Regions from separate parts of the Homo sapiens genome. Here all the other regions are linked to region 3. Evidence: promoter capture Hi-C in 16 types of primary human blood cells and fetal thymus (Javierre and others, 2016). All regions are on one chromosome and are shown on one strand. Each heading gives the region's core, a stretch centred on a gene start or on the middle of the fragment in contact. The rest is flanking DNA. Distances are from core to core; before and after follow the strand shown. Region 1 overlaps UTY (ubiquitously transcribed tetratricopeptide repeat containing, Y-linked). Region 2 overlaps UTY (ubiquitously transcribed tetratricopeptide repeat containing, Y-linked). Region 3 holds the start of UTY (ubiquitously transcribed tetratricopeptide repeat containing, Y-linked).

Region 1 (2,732 bases), core at 75-2,574, 130 kb before region 3:
ATGTCCAAAGCCAAGACAGTCATAAAACTAGCCCTCTTGTACCAGTTAGCTGAGTTGTGAAGGCCAAGGAAAGTAAAACTGTTACTCCCATGGACATACAAATGTTAAGAAAGCAAAACAACCTTATTGATGATATAAAGAAAGTTTTAGTGGTCTAGATAAAAGCTGTCTCATCACTGACAATATTCCCTCAAGCCAAAGCCTAATCCAGAAAAAGGGTGTAAACCCCTCCTTCAAATCTATGAAGGCTGACCGTGGTAAGGAAGCTGCAGAAGAAAAGTCTGAAGCCAGTAGAAGTTGGTTTATGAGGGAGAAGGAAAGAAGTCATCTCCATAATATAAGTAAGTGCAAGGTAAAGCAGCAAGTTATCCAGAAGACCTAGCTAGTATCATTGATGAAGGTGGCTACACTAAACAATAGATTTTCAATGAAGATTACAGTGGAAGAAGATGTGATTTAGGTCTTTTCTAACTAGAGAGAAGTTAACACCTGGTTTCAAGGCCTCAAAAGACAGGCTGACACCTTTGTTAGGAACTAATAAGGCTGGTGACTATAAGCTGAAGGCAATGCTCATTTATCATTCTGAAAATCCCACAGCCCTAAAGAGGTATGCTAAATCCACTCTGCCTGTGCTTTATAAATGGGATAACAAAGCCTGTGTGATAGCCCAACTGTTGACATCATGGTTTACTGAATACTTTTAAGTCTATATGGATAGCTACTACTCAGAAAAAGAGATTCCTTTCAATATACTATTCCTCATTAAATATACATTTGGTCATTCAAGAGCTCTGACAGATGTAAAAAGAGATTAAATTTGTCTTCATGCCTAACACAGTATCTATTCTGCGGCTCATGGATCAAGAAGTAATTTTGACTTTAAGTCTTATTATTTAAGAAATACATTTCATTTCATAAGTCTATATATAACTAACACAGACAGCAATTCCTCTAATAAAGCAAAGGAAAGGGAAAACTTTCTGAAAAGGATTCAGTCATTCAACATGTCATTAAGGACTTTCATGATTCATGGGAGGAGGTCAAAATGAATGTGGAAGAAGTTGATTCCAATCCTCATGGATGACTTTGAGGTGTTCAAGACTTCAGTTGAGGAAGGAACTACAGATGTAGAAATGGCAAGACAGTTTGACAGGTGGAGCCTGAAGAAGTGACTGAATTGCTGCAAGTGCACAACAAATTTTGAATGGATTAGAAGTTGTTGTTTCAGGGATGAGAAAAGAAAGTGGTTTTCTGAGAGGAAATCCACTCCTGGGGAAATGCTGTGAACACTAACTACTGTGATACAAACAAACGATTTGGAATATTACATAAATTTATTTGATAAAGGCAGTGGCAAAGTTCAAGAGGATTGACTCTAACTTTGAAAGAAGTTATATCATTGGGAAAACATCAAATAGCATGGCATCCTACAAAGAAATCTTTCAAGAAACAAAGAGTTTGTTGGGCACGGTGGCTCATGCCTGTAATCCCAGCACTTTCGGAGGCCGAGGTGGGCACTTCACTTGAGATCAGGAGTTTGAGACCAGCCTGACAAACATGGTGAAACCCCATCTCCACCAAAATTACAAAAATTAGCTAGGAGTGGTGGCATGCGTGTAGTCCCAGCTACTTTGGAGGCTGAGGCAGGAGAATCATTTGAACCTAGAAGGCAGAGGTTACAGTGAGCCAAGATAGCCCCATTGCACAGGCTGGGCAACAGAGTGAGACTCTGTCTCAAAAAAAAAGGGAGGCAGGGAAGGAGAGAGGGAGGAAAGGAAGAGAGGGAGCAAGGAAGGAAGGAAAGAGGGAAGGAAGGGAGGGAAGATCACAGTAGCAAATATCGTTGTTGTCTTAAGGGGTCACAGCCACTTCATCAGCAAACACCATCCTGATCAATGAGCAGTCATCACCATAGAGGCAAGACCGTCTACCGCCAAAAAAATTATGACTTGCTTAATGATCACAGGCTTTCTTTTTTTAAGCAATAAAATATTTTCAAAGTAAGATGTTGTTTGCTTACACAAATTATAATTGCAAACTGACATAATATAGTGTAAACATAACTTTTATATGCACTAAAAAATAAAACTAAATTAGTGTGATTGGCTTTATTATGATACTCACTTTATTGCAGTTGTCTTGTATGAAACCTGTAAGATGTCCAAGGTAGGCCTGTAATGATCCTGGTATCACTTAAAAGTTTTATACTCTTATCAATTACTTAAATTACTTTTTAAAGACAAAGCCATTCTTTAAATTTCTATCTTTTTAGAATGTACACAAACTAAATAAAGATAAACTACTATATAAGAGCCAAGAAAGCAGCTAGTCCTTTTTTTACCTGAGCGGAGTTAGATAGCTGTTTTCTCCATGGCTCTTCTGTGCTGCTGTTCAGGTCTGTATGATTATGAGGTAGAGTGTGTGTATTTTGCTGCAGGTAAGGCACATTTCCATTACTTTCACTTCCTGCTATACAATTACTGCCTAGCAAGATAGTGTCTGTACTTCCTAGAATTTTTGATGTGCCACAAGGAATACAGCCTGCAGAAAAAGCTCCACTGGACAAAAGTTTTTCAACACAAGCAGGGCGAACTCCAGGCTGAGAGACGCTAGATACTCTGGTCAGAGCACCATGTGGTTGTCGATTAGAGACAGAGTTTGTAGGCAGTGATGAATCAGTTATGGCCCCGTTATGAATTCCAGTAGTTCGTACCTGAGCAACTTCTTTGTGT
Region 2 (2,700 bases), core at 62-2,561, 91 kb before region 3:
TATTAACACAGGTGGCTTTGGTAATAAATATAGTTAGAGGCAGAGGGAAGAAGAATTCACAGACCCTTTTTCTTTTCATTTTGTACAAACACATTCAAAATTATGCAGCATTATAGTAACAAAATGAATGTTAAAATATCACTAGTTTCTAAATCTGAAAGACTAGTCAGAAAAGGTTTTCCTTTTAAAATTTTTATATTAAATTTTAATTTCTGGCTGGGTGCAGTGGCTCATGCCTGCAATCCCAGCATTTTGAGAAGCTGAGGTGGGTGGATCACCTGAGGTCAAGAGTTTGAGGCCAGCCTGGCAAATGCGGTGAAATCCCTTCTCTACTAAAAATACAAAAATCAGCTGGGCATGGTGGCAGGCATCTATAATGCCAGCTACTAGGGAGGCTGAGGCAGGGGAATCACTCGACCCCGGGAGGCAGAGGTTGCAGTGAGCTGAGATCGCACCAATGCACTCCAGCCTGGGCAACAACAGTGAAACTCTGTCTTAACAACAATAAAAAATTTAATTTCTATGAATAAGACTGGAGCAGCAACTTGCCCACTCAAGTTTTCTACTTCTGGGTAAAATTTCATCATTTATGTTCTGCTAGGAAAAAGCTTCTAGATTTTCAAACTTGTTATATTTTTATACAATAGTTCTAAAATATCTTCTATTAACACATCTGTAACCCTGTAGCAAATTTCTCCAACACTACTTTTAACATTTTTCATTTTTTTCATCTGTGAGAAATATCCATTTGATCTTTTCAAGGATTCAACTTCTGGATTCATTTAGGTAATTTCTAAATACAAAACTAAAATAAAGTAGGCTTAAGGAGATTTACTATGTTAAAAACATGTACAAATAACACCAAAAGAAGTAACAATAGATGATGAAATGCTCCAGTTATCTTATCAAAATGAACAAAAAATATCCAAGAAGAAAACTAACATAGATGTTACTGCATGTTGCATGCAAATAGCATTTGTAGATACTTATGTTATACATGTGTCTTTAAACATTTCACAACATGCATTATAGTAAAGGTCAAATAACATTCCATTGTGTATATATTTAGATACACCCTCCCCTGTTTTCTTCATCCATTCATCTTTCAATGGCCATGTAGTTTGTTTCTTGGCTACTGCAAATAATACTACAATTAGTATGAAGTGCAGACAGATGCTGATGTTGTTTCCTTTGGATATATACGAAGTGAATGGCTGGATTATATGGTAGCTCTATTTTTAATTTTTTAAGTAACCTTCATCTGTTTTCCATAATGGCTGTACCAATTTATATCCCCCACCAGGACTGTATGGTTTGTTCTCTTTTCTCCACATCCTCAGTATCACTTTTAACTTTTTGATTAACATCCACTGATGTAGTTAGGCTTTGTGCCCCCACCCAAATCTCATCTTCAATTGTAATCTCCACAAATACCCACGTGTCAAGGGAGACCAGGTGCATGGGGGTGGTTTCCTCCATGCTGTTCTTGTGATAGTGAGTTCTCACAAGATCTAATGATTTTATTGGGCTCTTCCGTCTCTGCTTGACAATTCTCCTGCCGCCTTGTGAAGAAGTGCCTTGCTTTCCCTCACCTTCTGCCATGATTCTAAGTTTCCAGAGGCCTTCCAGCCATGTAGTACTGTGAGTCAATTAAACCTCTTTCTAAATTTCCCAGTCTTGGGTATGTCTTTATCAGCAGTATGAAAACTGACTAATAAAGCCATCCTAAGATATGAGGTGATATTTCATGATGGATTTGATTTGAAATTCCCTGATTAGTTCTACTAAGCAGTGTGTCATATACCTGTTGACCATTACTATACTTTCTTTGGAAAAATGTCTATCCAGGTCCTTTTGCCCACTTTTACTTGTAGGTTACTTTTTGGTTACTAAGTAATATGAGTTTTGGAGATATTTGGGGTATTAACCCTTATTGGAATTTATGGTTGGCAAGTACCATCTCCCAAACTCCCAGGATGCTTTTAACTTTGTTGATTGCTTTCTTTGCTGTATACAAGCTTTTCAGTTTGATGCAATCCACCTATTTTTGCTTTTATTACCTATGTCTTTAGTGCCACATCCAGAAAAATCACTGCTAAGATCAATGTCATGCAGCTTTCCCTGCTCTTTTCTTCTATTATGGTTTTAAGTCTTATGTTTATAAGTCCTCAATTCATTTTGAGTTGCTTTTTGTGTATGATGTAAGATAAAAATCTAATTCCATTTTTATATATGTGGATGTCCAGTTTTCCCCAAAAAAGACTATCCTTTTCCACTGTATTTTCTTGGATCCTTTGTCAAATACCAGCTGACCCTATCTATGTGGGGTTTTCTTCCAGGCTTTGTATAAAGTACCATTGTTCTATGTATTTTTTTACATACCAGTCACTATCTTACCATTTTCATTACTGTCGCTTTGTAACGTACTCTGAAATTAGGAAGTGTAATGGCCCAGCCTTGTTTATCTTGTCCAAGATTCCTTTAGTTCTTCAGGGTGTCTTTTGATTCCACACAAATTTTACAATAGTTTTTTGTATTTCTGTGCAAATGCCATTGGAATTGTGAGACATCACTTAGTGTAGTATGCACATTATGATAAATACTGATTCTTCTAATCCATGAACGTGGAGAGACCTTGCTATTTATTTCTGTCATCTTCAGCTTCCTTCACGGATGTTTAACATATTTCAGGCTACAGAT
Region 3 (2,700 bases), core at 140-2,639:
GCATGACACCTAAGAAACAAGGTTCCTGAATGGAAAAAGCACACACATTCATGAAATCACATTTGCAGCACTGTGCATCCTAAAAAAGTCAACAAATCACTAAACTTCAGGCTAAACATACACGCATCAGTTTATAGGTCAAATATCTACTGCAAACTCTTCACCGCTGTAACTTACTTGCTACTTACACTTAGGACACCAGGGATATTTTTTTTAAAAAGGCAAAAAAATGTTTAAAATTAGACACCAAGAGCCAAATACCAAAAGGCGAGGGGAAGAAGCAGGAAGTTATGAATTTTGAAAACTGTACACATTCACTATTTGTGACGCTAAAATTCAGGAACAAAAGGCCCTAAAGTAACAGGCATGTGGTGTAGACCCGGTTTAGCCCGGTCCCAAAGCGTCCGATTTTTTTTTTCCTCAGAGTAGAAGGGAGTCTGGAGCAAGGGGCGAAGTATTCCAGAGTACGGGGACAGCAAAGGCAAGAAACACTTTTCCGACCCCTTGGCCATGGAGCAGAGCCAAAATAAATACTGGCTGGGCGGTAAGGAACGCGGGGCCTTGGTAGAGCAAAGTGCGGACCAAAGACTTTGCGTCTGGTTGCTTTTACCTTGCCTAGTAGGGTCTTCGTTCTGGCGCCATCTTCATGAAGCCTCACGAACCCGAAGAGACGGCTGTAGAGAGAGAGACACAGAGCTTGTTAATGGTCTGAGAAAGCCAGTGACTTGCTCCTTCCCGAGTCCAAGAGCGACAGCGACAGATTGGTGAGTGCCAAGCTGAGGATGACCCCGTCATCAACGTGGGCAAGCTGCGTCCAGGCCTTCCCGGAGAGTATCGCCAGCCAACCAGGCGGGTGATGGAGGTGCGTACCTGTCCATGCCACCAAGCGCCTCCCTTTCCTCGACTGTCAGGCTAACAGACTCCTCTTCACTCTCGCGGCTCGCTTTTCCTTCCGCCATTTTCTTTGCCTCATCACCGAAGGCAACAGCGGCGGTAGTGAGCGACACTGCGCAGGATTTCATGGAAACAACAAATTTCCAAGTCCCACGACGATACCCAACCTTAATCGAGTAGTTGAAAAGACGCCTTCAATCGCTGCTTGAGACTGTGACGCCAATTTTATCGCCTCCTCAGCGGCTGCAAGGAAAAAAGCTGAGGCAAAGACTTAAGCTACCGAAGCACGGGCAGCGGAACTCGGCTACCTGGATCACATCTGGGAAACTACAGGGAAGGCAGAAGCTCGCAGTGCTGGAGAGCACAGCAGAATTTCTTAAAATCACAAACTTTGCCAGCACCAGCACAAAGTTGTAATTGTGTCACGGGCGAACCCCACGCAGCCGCCGCGACCTCCCCGCTCCCAACCACTTAGTTGTAGCCAATCTAGGCGACTGATTCGTCTCACGTGATCTTTGTTGACTTACGTCAGGCATTGCTCCACTGTACTCCTAGGCTGCTGGGACCCCGCCCAGCCAGTTCGCCAAGGACCTAGGAACATGACAGAGGCTGACTGATTCTGACCGCTGGTTGGTTGATGGTCACGTCTATGGAGAAAAGGGTAGTCTCTGGGATGGAACAACCTGTAGGTTGTGCTAGTTAAATGCATTAAGATAGAAAATGGAGTGTCTGTGCTGGGTGTTTTTGCAGTTGCGATACGCTTGAAGGGGAAGAGAGCGATGGGAAGGGCGGCATCGGGCATCACCCACGGGGCGCAAATGCGAAAAGAGGACACCATGGACTTTAGGAGAGTCCGTAATGAGGCTCCCACTGTCACAAGCCTTGCGAATGCGAGACCTTGCGGGGCATGGCAGGGAAGCTGCGCAGGCCCTAAACCTTCACCCTCAAGACTTTTGGCCCTAAGGCCTTGTCACCTCCATAGGCTGGTTCTTTGCCCATTTCCTCTCCACTGACCAAGTCTAAAGAGAAGGCATAATATCTTATGACCTCAGTCGGTAAGCCAGGCCCTAGGGAATCAACGTGGCAACTGCATTTATCAGTTCATGATATTATCTAAACAACAAACGATGAGCAAAAAAAAAAAAAAAAAAAAAAGTTACTCCACAAACCCAAAATGTTTATTTCTATTGTGATAATGATAATTCCGTGAGGTCTCAGTAAGAGTAGGAGCTTCTGTGGACAGGAATTATAAGAACAATAATTAAGACCTTCATCACACTTTCAAGATGCAGTAACCCTTAGAAAAGAAAAAAACACCACTTTTTTCTTACTTTCTCAATTGTAACCAAAATTATAAATAATAGGTAAAAGAATTTATTTCTGAACCCCAAATATCTGAGAGAGGTCTTAGTCAATTTAAAAAGTTTATTTTGCAAGACTTACCCATGATACATTTGCCCAAGGTGGTCAGGGCACAGCTTGCTTTTGTACGTTTTAGGGAAACATGATTGGTTCGGTCAGGTAAGAGGGACAGCTCGAAGCGGGGGCTTCCATGTTAGAAATAGATAAGAGACAGGTCGGGCGCTGTGGTTTACGCCAGTAATCCCAGCACTTTGGGAGGCCGAGGCGGGCAGATGACCTAACGTTGGGAGTTTCAGACCAGCGTCACCAACATGGAAAAACCCCGTCTCTACTAAAAATACAAAATTAACAGAGCATGGTGGCGCATGCCTGTAATCTCAGCTACTCTGAAGACTGAGGCAGGCGAATCGCTTGAACCCAAGAGGCGGAGGTTGCGGTGAGCCG

Evidence for each region. Contacts are between HindIII fragments. The CHiCAGO score rates a contact against its expected background, and 5 or more counts as called.
Region 1: a contact is called between a fragment that was not itself captured here and the fragment with the promoter of UTY in region 3, in 1 of 17 cell types (monocytes). The highest score is 6.4, in monocytes.
Region 2: a fragment that was not itself captured here is called in contact with the fragment with the promoter of UTY in region 3 in 1 of 17 cell types (fetal thymus); the score reaches 5.1 in fetal thymus.

What each region holds. Positions count from the first base shown.
Region 1 is chrY:13,352,662-13,355,393 of GRCh38, forward strand. It overlaps UTY (ubiquitously transcribed tetratricopeptide repeat containing, Y-linked), which reads right to left. Exons shown (of 30, transcript NM_001258249.2): 17 at 2,342-2,732. Among named protein-coding and RNA genes, the nearest start is that of MIR12120, 130 kb to the right of the region's middle. The HindIII fragment of the contact is 8,782 bases long and covers 1-2,732 here.
Region 2 is chrY:13,387,314-13,390,013 of GRCh38, forward strand. The region is part of intron 8 of UTY (ubiquitously transcribed tetratricopeptide repeat containing, Y-linked); the gene reads right to left. Among named protein-coding and RNA genes, the nearest start is that of MIR12120, 91 kb to the right of the region's middle. The HindIII fragment of the contact is 1,410 bases long and covers 607-2,016 here.
Region 3 is chrY:13,478,644-13,481,343 of GRCh38, forward strand. UTY (ubiquitously transcribed tetratricopeptide repeat containing, Y-linked) reads right to left here and starts at 1,390. Exons shown (of 30, transcript NM_001258249.2): 1 at 871-1,390; 2 at 611-674. The coding sequence starts at 1,022. It overlaps MIR12120 (microRNA 12120), which reads left to right and starts at 534; the gene lies at 534-623. The HindIII fragment of the contact is 7,265 bases long and covers 1-2,700 here.